Linked DNA regions of Homo sapiens: all the other regions are linked to region 2. Evidence: promoter capture Hi-C in human tissues and cell types (Jung and others, 2019). All regions are on one chromosome and are shown on one strand. The core of a region is centred on a gene start or on the middle of the fragment in contact, and the rest is flanking DNA. Distances in the headings are between cores, read along the strand shown.

Region 1 (2,700 bases), core at 167-2,666, 56 kb after region 2:
CCAATCAACACCTCCTTGGAATGGGTCTCTGCAGCAGTGACTGGGGTCAGAGATGGGGCTGAGTGCATCTGAAATAGCACACGTGTGATGTCCATTAACGGTTGGCCCCTTCCACTCCTCAAATGCCCTCCTTTCCTCTTAACACCCATCTCTCCCCAAGTCCCTTCGTGGTGGTAGCCAGCCAAAATACCACAAAGACTTCATAGAAAACAATAAGTGGAAGAAGCTCCAAACCCTGCTGGCCCTGAGGCCATAGTTGATATTCTTCATCTCTGCTCTCCAGCATCCAATCCTGATCCTCCTTAGCTCCAGGCAGCACTTGGGTTGATCTACATCAACCCAACCCTGGGAGGGGCAACTTAGGTCTTCAATGAAGGATCTGAATGTTCACTGCTTTGTCCTTGTTAGGCTGTGTATCCTCTAGTTGCCTGGTGACCATTGTTACCAGGCATCAAGAAGCACCAAGAGATGCTCCAAGAAATCTGAATTTGTAGCTGTGTTCCTTCTCTCCTCACCATGCAGCAGCACCCCTAACTCCTCATGGTAACTGTTATAGGAAAGGAGTCCTAATCCAGACCCCAAGAGAGGGTTCTTGGATCTTGTGCAAGAAAGAATTCAGAGAGAGTCCACAGTGCAAAGAAAAAACAAGTTTATTAAGAAAGTAAAAGGATAAAAGAATGGCTACTCCATAGACAGAGCAACCCCATTGCTGCTGGTTGCCCATTTTCATGGTTATTTCTTCATGATATGCTAAACAAGGGTTGGATTATTCATTCCCCCCCCTTTTTAGACCATATGGGGTAATGTCCTGACATTGCCCTGGCATTTGTAAGTTGTCATGGCACTGGTGGGAGTGTAGCAGTGAGGATGACCAGAGGTCACTCTCATTGCCGTTTTGGTTTTGGTGAGACTTTGCTGGTTTCCTTACTGCAAACTGTTTTGTCAGCAAGGTCTTTATGACCTGTATCTTTTGCTGACCTCCTCTCTCTTCCTGTGATGTAGAATGCCTTAACTGTCTGGGAATGCAGCCCAGTAGGCCTCAGCCTCATTTTACCCAGCTCCTATTCAAGATGGATTACTCTTGTTCACATGCCTCTGACATAATCACTAACAATTACTCTTACCATTATAGTAACTTTCTTCACTGTTGGTTGATCCACTAATATAGGGAGCCCCAAATGAGCAAGTGGTAGTGATAGTTTCAAGTTGACTGGAAACTTTATTGCAGGAGTTCTCAACCCCTGGTCCTGTTAGGAACGAGGCCGCACAGTAGGAGGTGAGCGGCAGGTGAGCAAGCGAAGCTTCATCTGTACTTACAGCCGCTCTGCATTGCTCACCTGAGCTCCGCCTCCTGTCAGATCAGCGGGGGCATTAGGTTCTCACAGGAGCGTGAACCTTATTGTGAACTGCGCATGTGAGGGATCTAGGTTGCACACTCCTTATGAGAATCTAATGCCTGATGATTGGTCACTATCTCCCATCACCTCCAGATGGGGCCGACTAGTTGCAGGAAAACAAGCTTAGGGCCCCCCACTGATTCAATATTATGGTGAGTTGCATAATTATTTCACTATATATTACAATGTAATAATAATAGAAATAAAGTACACAACCAATGTAATGTGCTTGAATCATCCTGAAACTATCACCCTCACCTCCAACCGTCGGTCCACGGAAAAATTGTCTTCCATGAAACCAGTCCCTGGTGCCAAAAAGGTTGTGGACCACTACTTTCTTGTATTCCCTGGTGCATTCTCCCCAGGAACAGGGATCTGTGGTCTGACAGTACCTAAGTTTACAGGAACAGGGAGCATAAATACACCAAGTGAAAAAACTAGCAATACCTATCTATCAATTGCTTTATAATTTGGTACTGTTTCTCTCCTAATCGCCATTATTTCCTTCCTTCTTACTTTGCATTTAATTTTCTCTTTACTTTCTTGCAGCTGTGTAAGAGCATCTCATTTTGTCTGAGAGCTGAATGTTCCGCCTAAGAAAATTCTCAGAATTGGAAATCTAGAGGATTTCTTAAATCCAGCTTCTCTAAAGTTTATAAAAATTGCTCAAATAGAAAAAAAAGCCCTCAAAGTATTGTCTTTTTCCAGCGTTTGGATAAGAGAGACTTTATTTTTAACTAATATAATTTGTTATTTAAAGCATAAATTAATTAATTAAAAAAATGTAAATGGGTTATGCCAAGGGAGGGTTTATTTTGGATCTGAAGCAATGTTTCAAACCTTTAGGCATTTTTCCTAGGGTTTTTAGATCCTGCCAAAATGGTGTTTCCATAGCAACAGGACTATAGAAACCTCAAGGGGCTATCACTGTAGATGTAACTAGAGATGTCCCTACAATGGGGGGAACTGGACAACTGCCCAGGAATTTAGTACATTAATAGAACCCAAGCTGATGGAGGAGCTGTAACTTAGGGAGGGAGCTAATGGAGAAGGAAGTACCTGTCCAATTCATGCCAAAACAAAATAAAACATAGCCCAGGTGCCCCCTCCAGGTGTATCCAAGGCAAATGAATTGGAATAGGGGAAATATCCAATTTCAAACCCTCTTCCCCCATCAACCTCCCTCACCATATAGGGTTCTAGATCTCTTCCCCCACCCTCACGTTTTTTGGATGCTCTTTAAAAACTTCATTTCCTCTCCAAGACTATCCCTTATGTTTCTTCAACCTTATTTTACTTATCT
Region 2 (2,700 bases), core at 110-2,609:
TTGGTGTGCTTACAATCCTTTAGCTAGACACAAACGTTCTCCAAGTCCCCACCAGATTAGCTAGACACAGAGCGCTGATTGGTGCTTTTACAATCCTTTAGCTAGACAGAAAAGTTCTCCAAGTCCCCACCATCCCAGAAGCCCAGCTGGCTTCACCTCTCACTGGCACTAGCCACGGGACTTTGTGGCACCTATCCGGAGCACCTAGCCCGGGCACTCCAGCAGCCTAGAGGGAGCTCGTCCCAGACAATCAAGAGCAAAAGACGGGAAGCAAGAAAGAGATGGAGACCCGCCATCGTGGCCAACGTTCTGGTCCACGCACGGGATTCAGCCTCTGATCAAGCCCCAGTTCCCGCCCACGCCTCTCCCTCCACACCTCCCGGCAAGCAGAGGGAGCCGGCTCCGGCCTCGGCCAGCCCCAGAGAGGGTCCCCCACAGCGCAGCGGCGGGCTGAAGGGCTCCTTGAAGACGGAGAGAGCTGAAGCTGAGGCTGAGGAGGCGCCAAGAGCGAGCCAGGGCTGCTAGCAAGTTGTCATCTCTCATTACTAGCATTCTCTCAGGAATATCCTACCGCAGGGTTCCCGTGTTTCATATACAATTAGTGATGAGGCTAATCATCCTGATCTCAAATTTCCTCTACCTGCCCACCAGCTGACTTAAACCCCTATACTGTGGGCATGCATTCTGCCCACTCTGAAATCTTAGGATTTAACTTCTCTTGCTTCCTAGAAAATGAACCACTTTGTTCCTTTAGTCATTTATTCACTAATAATTTGTTGAGAGGTTTTGTTTTGAGGAGCATGAAGGATCTGATGTAAGAACTACCACCGGTGCTGGTGATCACAATATATGCAGCTGATTAAAGTTCCTCATTTATGCTACCTACATCCCTGGTAAGAATTTCATTCCTTCAACCAATACTTTTCATTTGAAAGCATCTCATTACGAAAGACTTCAATCTTTTAGGCTTCTGCATCTTGCAAAACAAATATGGTTCCAAAGAGCCTATCTTTTCAACAAATCTTTGGTTTGAGCCTGGATGAAACAGTTATTACAGAATCAACTGGAGAGGAAAAAATCTTCATCTAACACTGAAGTCTTTCTATTCTGCGAGGTGAAATCCTTTGACCTAGATTCTGTCCCTTGAAAGGCAAGTGACAGTAGGTGAGCCTAAGAAAATTGGTTAATTCTTGATCTAAAAAGTTAAATTCATGAACCACACTGATTTGATTACCTTGAAAATCTACCAGACAGAAAGTTCTCCCTTTTATCCACCTTCATTGTTACCTTCAGAGCAGCTCTCTCCATAGCAACTGAAAACTTTTCTGGGCTGAAATAATCCTCTCTAGCTCCCAGTGCACAGTCAAAGAATTTTAAAAACAGGGAACTTTGTAACTGTGAAATACTCTCCAGGATTTAAAAGGCTGTGGAGCTCCAGATAAAGAATCGTTTATCTTTCTTCTGAAGGTAAGCACTGGGGTTAGAAATGCTTGCATCATCCTCTGTCACTTTTAAATTGCTAACATAACAACCTTAAAGTGTTGTTGTTGTTTTTAACTCATAAAAGTAATCCCAGTACCTTTGTTACTAGCCCACAGTCATTTACCAGCTCATCTCTGGGCCAGGATCGGACATGAGATGCTGTTAACATTTTACATGCCTTAAGCCATCAACAGAAAGATAATTTTTTTTTCCAGGAAGTTGATTGGCTCTAAAGTCATCCCCCACTCCTTTAGTCACCACTGAGTGAGTGTGTGTGTGTGTGTGTGTCATGTTCTTGAGGTCTCGAAATTCTGTTTTTCTAAGATGCTTCCTGCTCTAGAATCTTGATTCTTAGTAAACTAAAAAAAAGACCTGTGTTTTCTGAACATTACTATTTTCTTCTAGTGCTTTTCCTTGTCTAAAACTCTTTTTTTTTCTTTTTTCTTTTTTCTTTTTTTTTTTTTTGAGATGGAGTCTTGTTCTGTCGCCCAGGCTGGAGTGCAGTGGCACGATCTTGGCTCACTGCAACCCCCGCCTCCCGGGTTCAAGCAATTCTTCTGCCTCAGCCTCCCATGTAACTGGGACTACAGGCACGTGCCACCATACCTGGCTAATTTTTGTATTTTCAGTAGAGACGGGGGTGTCACCATATTGGCCAGGCTGGTCTCAAACTCCTGACCTCGTGATCTGCCTGCTTCAGCCTCCCAAAGTGCTGGGATTACTGGTGTGAGCTACCGCGCCTGGCCTAAAACTTTTAAACTCAACATGATGTTGGTCATTTAGTAGAATTTATTTTCTCTTTTTCATGAGGACCATGAATCACTTGGAGTTCTTTATAATGGGATAAACATAAGGTGTTTCCCAACCTGGGTCCTATAACTTGTACCACCTGTTGGTAAATGGAGAAACTTACGTGACGCTATGTTTAGTTTAGGGAGAGAGAATCTAGCAAGCTTTTTGGCTGCTGTGCAGTTTGAAAGTCTACAGCCATGGTGCTTTCCTGCCATTTGGGGTTAGAAATTACCTACAGACCCCCGCTGTGTAGAAACAGCTTGTCATTGCAAATCAGCTTAGCCACCCAATTAATGAATCCTTTCAAACATGTTGCAGGCACAATAATTGAAGGCTTTATTTTTCCCCTTTACCACAGAAATTCCTTTGGTTACAAGTTTACCCCATAAACGGCAACACACTCACCTCCATCCAAGACAGACTCAA
Region 3 (2,700 bases), core at 113-2,612, 35 kb after region 2:
CAACACTCATTTTAGTCACTGAAAATAATATCACCCTGGACATTGCAAATAATTCAGACAGCTTTTGGAAGGAAGTTCTTCCAAAACGTGTACTCATTTTGTACACAAACATAGGTCTACAATACTGCCAAACCTTATGCTTCCTATGTAACAGCTAGTCTTTTCGCCTTTGAGAAGCTTAAGATATGATTAAAGGGAAATTATTGCTAGTGTCTGTCTGTGGATGTTGTAGTTTCAAGTGAGAGAAATTTATTTCTTTGAGGGTTGGAGGTGAGCTCAGTCCTTGCTTGCTGCAATAATTTTTAGTAAGGGGTAGTCAGAGTAACTTCAAAACAACACGGTTATTTGAAGAAAGTCTTGTCTTAGTCCTTGCTGTAACAAAATACCACAAACGGATGGCTTATGTAAACAACAGACATCTATTTCTCACAGTTCTGGAGGTTGGGAAGTCCAAGATCAAGGCATCAGCAGATTCGGCATCTGGTGAGGGTCTCGTTCCTGGTTCATGGACTGGTGAAGGGAAGAACTCCAGTCCCTTTAGCCCCTGTAAAGACCCTAATCCCATTCAACAGGGGTGAAGAGTATATGTTCTAATCACCTCCCAAAGGCCTCACTTCCTAATACCACCCACCACCTTGGTGGTTAGGTTTCAACATGTGAATTTTGCGGAGACACAAACATTTAGACCATAGCAAATCTGTTCATTCTTTTTGTTAAAAATTTAAAAACTTTTTGCCGCATATAACACTTATAAGACTGGGTGCTGTGGCTTATGCCTGTAATCCCATCACTTTGGGAGGTGAAGCAGGAGGATTGCTTGAGCCCAGGAGCTTGAGACTAGCCCAGGTAATACAGTGAGACCCTATCTCTACTAAAAATAAAAGCTTAGCCAGGCCTGATGGCACCTGCCCGTAGTCCCAGCTGCTCGAGGGTCTGATGTGGGAAGATCACTTGAGCCTGGGAGTTCAGGATTATAGTGAGCTATAATCACACCACTCCACCCCAGCTTGAGCAGCAGAGTGAGAACCTGTCTCAAAAACAACAAAAACAACAAAACGCTTATTTAAAAATTCCAAGTTGGGGGCAGTGGGCTTACAACTGTAATCCCAGCCATTTGGGAGGCTGAGACGAGTGGATTGCTTGAGTCCAGGAGTTCGAGACCAGCCTGGGGAACATGACGAAACCCCATCTCTACAAACAAAAAATACCAGAAAATGAGTCAGGCATGATGGTGTGCACCTGTTGTCCCAGGTACTTGGGAGGCTGAGGTGGGAGGATCACTTGAGCCTAGGAGGTGGAGGCTACAGAGAGCTATGATAGTGCCACTACATTCCAGGCTGGGTGACAGACAGAGAGCCTGTCTCAAAATAAAAACAAAACACTTATTTAAAAAATCCATATCCCTACTGGCTGTTACTGTAAGACCAATTCTTCTGGCATTTTCGCCAGCTGAGGCCGGAATGGAGGGCACTGGGCACTGACTGTGTTTACGATCTCCTTTGACTTAGAATACGGCTACAGCACGGTGGCTGTCACCCTTCTCACACTGGGCTCCATGCTGGGGACAGCGCTGGTCCTTTTCCATAGCTGTGAGGAGAACTACAGGCTTATCTTACAGCTGTTTGTGGGCTTGGCCGTCGGGACACTGTCTGGGGACGCTCTGCTCCACCTTATCCCTCAGGTAATCTGGTCTTTTCCATTTCAGATAAAGTTCACTTCATTGCTCTTCACTTTTAACCACTGGAGGTATTTATGCAAAATTTTACTGAGACTTCAAAGAGAGAGTATCGTGGCTGGTGTTTTCCTTAAAAAGAAATATTATTTCCCCAAGGCCTCTCTGCACTTGTAGAAGAGAAGAGATGCCCCAACATTAGGCTCGCCACATAGTAGTAGTATTTTTGAAATAAAACAAAGGAAAGGTGGCAGGGCACGGTGGCTCACACCTGTAATCCCAGTACCATGGAAGGCTGAGGCGGGAAGATCGCTGGAGCCCAGGAGCTCAAGAACAGCCTGGCCGATGTGGTGGAACCCCATCTCTACTAAAAATACAAAAATTAGCTGCACATGTTACATGCACCGGTAGTCCCAGCACTTTGGGAGGCCAAGGCAGGTGGATTACTTGAGATCAGGAGTTCGAGACCAGCCTGGACAGCATGGTGAAACCCCATCTCTACTAAAAATATAAAAATTAGCTGGGCATAGTGCCATGCGTCTGTAATCCTAGCTACTCGGGAGGCTGAGACAGGAGAATCGCTTGAACTCGAGAGGCGAAGGTTGCAGTGAGCAAAGATCGTACCACTGCACTCCAGCATGGGTGACAGAGCGAGACTCTGTCTCAGAAAAAGTTGTCATTCAGTTAGTTCACCCAAGACCTGGTTGTTTAAAAGTCCAGAACCTCCCCGTCTCCCTCTCTCTTGCTTTCTCTCTCTCATTATGTGATGTGCCTGCTTCCCCTTCACTGTCTACTGTGATTGGAAGCTTCCTGAGGCCCATATCAGAAGCAAATGCTGACACCATGCTTCCTGTACACCCTGCAGAACCAGGAGCCCATTAAACCTCTTTTCTTTATAGGTTATCCAGCCTCAGATATTTCTTTATAGCAACACAAAAATGGCCTAATTCACTTGTCCTTCTTTCTGTTCTGCCCAGAAGGCTGCATCTCCTCAGCTACCTTGCAGGTTGGATTTTTGTTTGGGGTCA

Evidence for each region. The method cuts DNA at HindIII sites, captures the fragments that hold promoters and counts their contacts. A contact is called where the count stands out against the background at its distance.
Region 1: a contact is called between a fragment that was not itself captured here and the fragment with the promoter of SLC39A12 in region 2, in 2 of the 25 tissues and cell types used here (H1 embryonic stem cells and small bowel).
Region 3: a contact is called between a fragment that was not itself captured here and the fragment with the promoter of SLC39A12 in region 2, in 2 of the 25 tissues and cell types used here (dorsolateral prefrontal cortex and neural progenitor cells).

Annotation. Positions count from the first base shown.
Region 1 is chr10:18,006,895-18,009,594 of GRCh38, forward strand. The region is part of intron 12 of SLC39A12 (solute carrier family 39 member 12); the gene reads left to right. SLC39A12-AS1 (SLC39A12 antisense RNA 1) reads right to left here. Exons shown (of 5, transcript NR_038419.1): 3 at 1,656-1,789. Among named protein-coding and RNA genes, the nearest start is that of SLC39A12-AS1, 2.3 kb to the right of the region's middle. The HindIII fragment of the contact is 5,062 bases long and covers 1-2,700 here.
Region 2 is chr10:17,950,559-17,953,258 of GRCh38, forward strand. It overlaps SLC39A12 (solute carrier family 39 member 12), which reads left to right and starts at 1,360. Exons shown (of 13, transcript NM_001145195.2): 1 at 1,360-1,467; 2 at 2,633-2,700. The HindIII fragment of the contact is 7,346 bases long and covers 1-2,700 here.
Region 3 is chr10:17,985,971-17,988,670 of GRCh38, forward strand. It overlaps SLC39A12 (solute carrier family 39 member 12), which reads left to right. Exons shown (of 13, transcript NM_001145195.2): 7 at 1,509-1,681. Among named protein-coding and RNA genes, the nearest start is that of SLC39A12-AS1, 23 kb to the right of the region's middle. The HindIII fragment of the contact is 4,658 bases long and covers 1-2,700 here.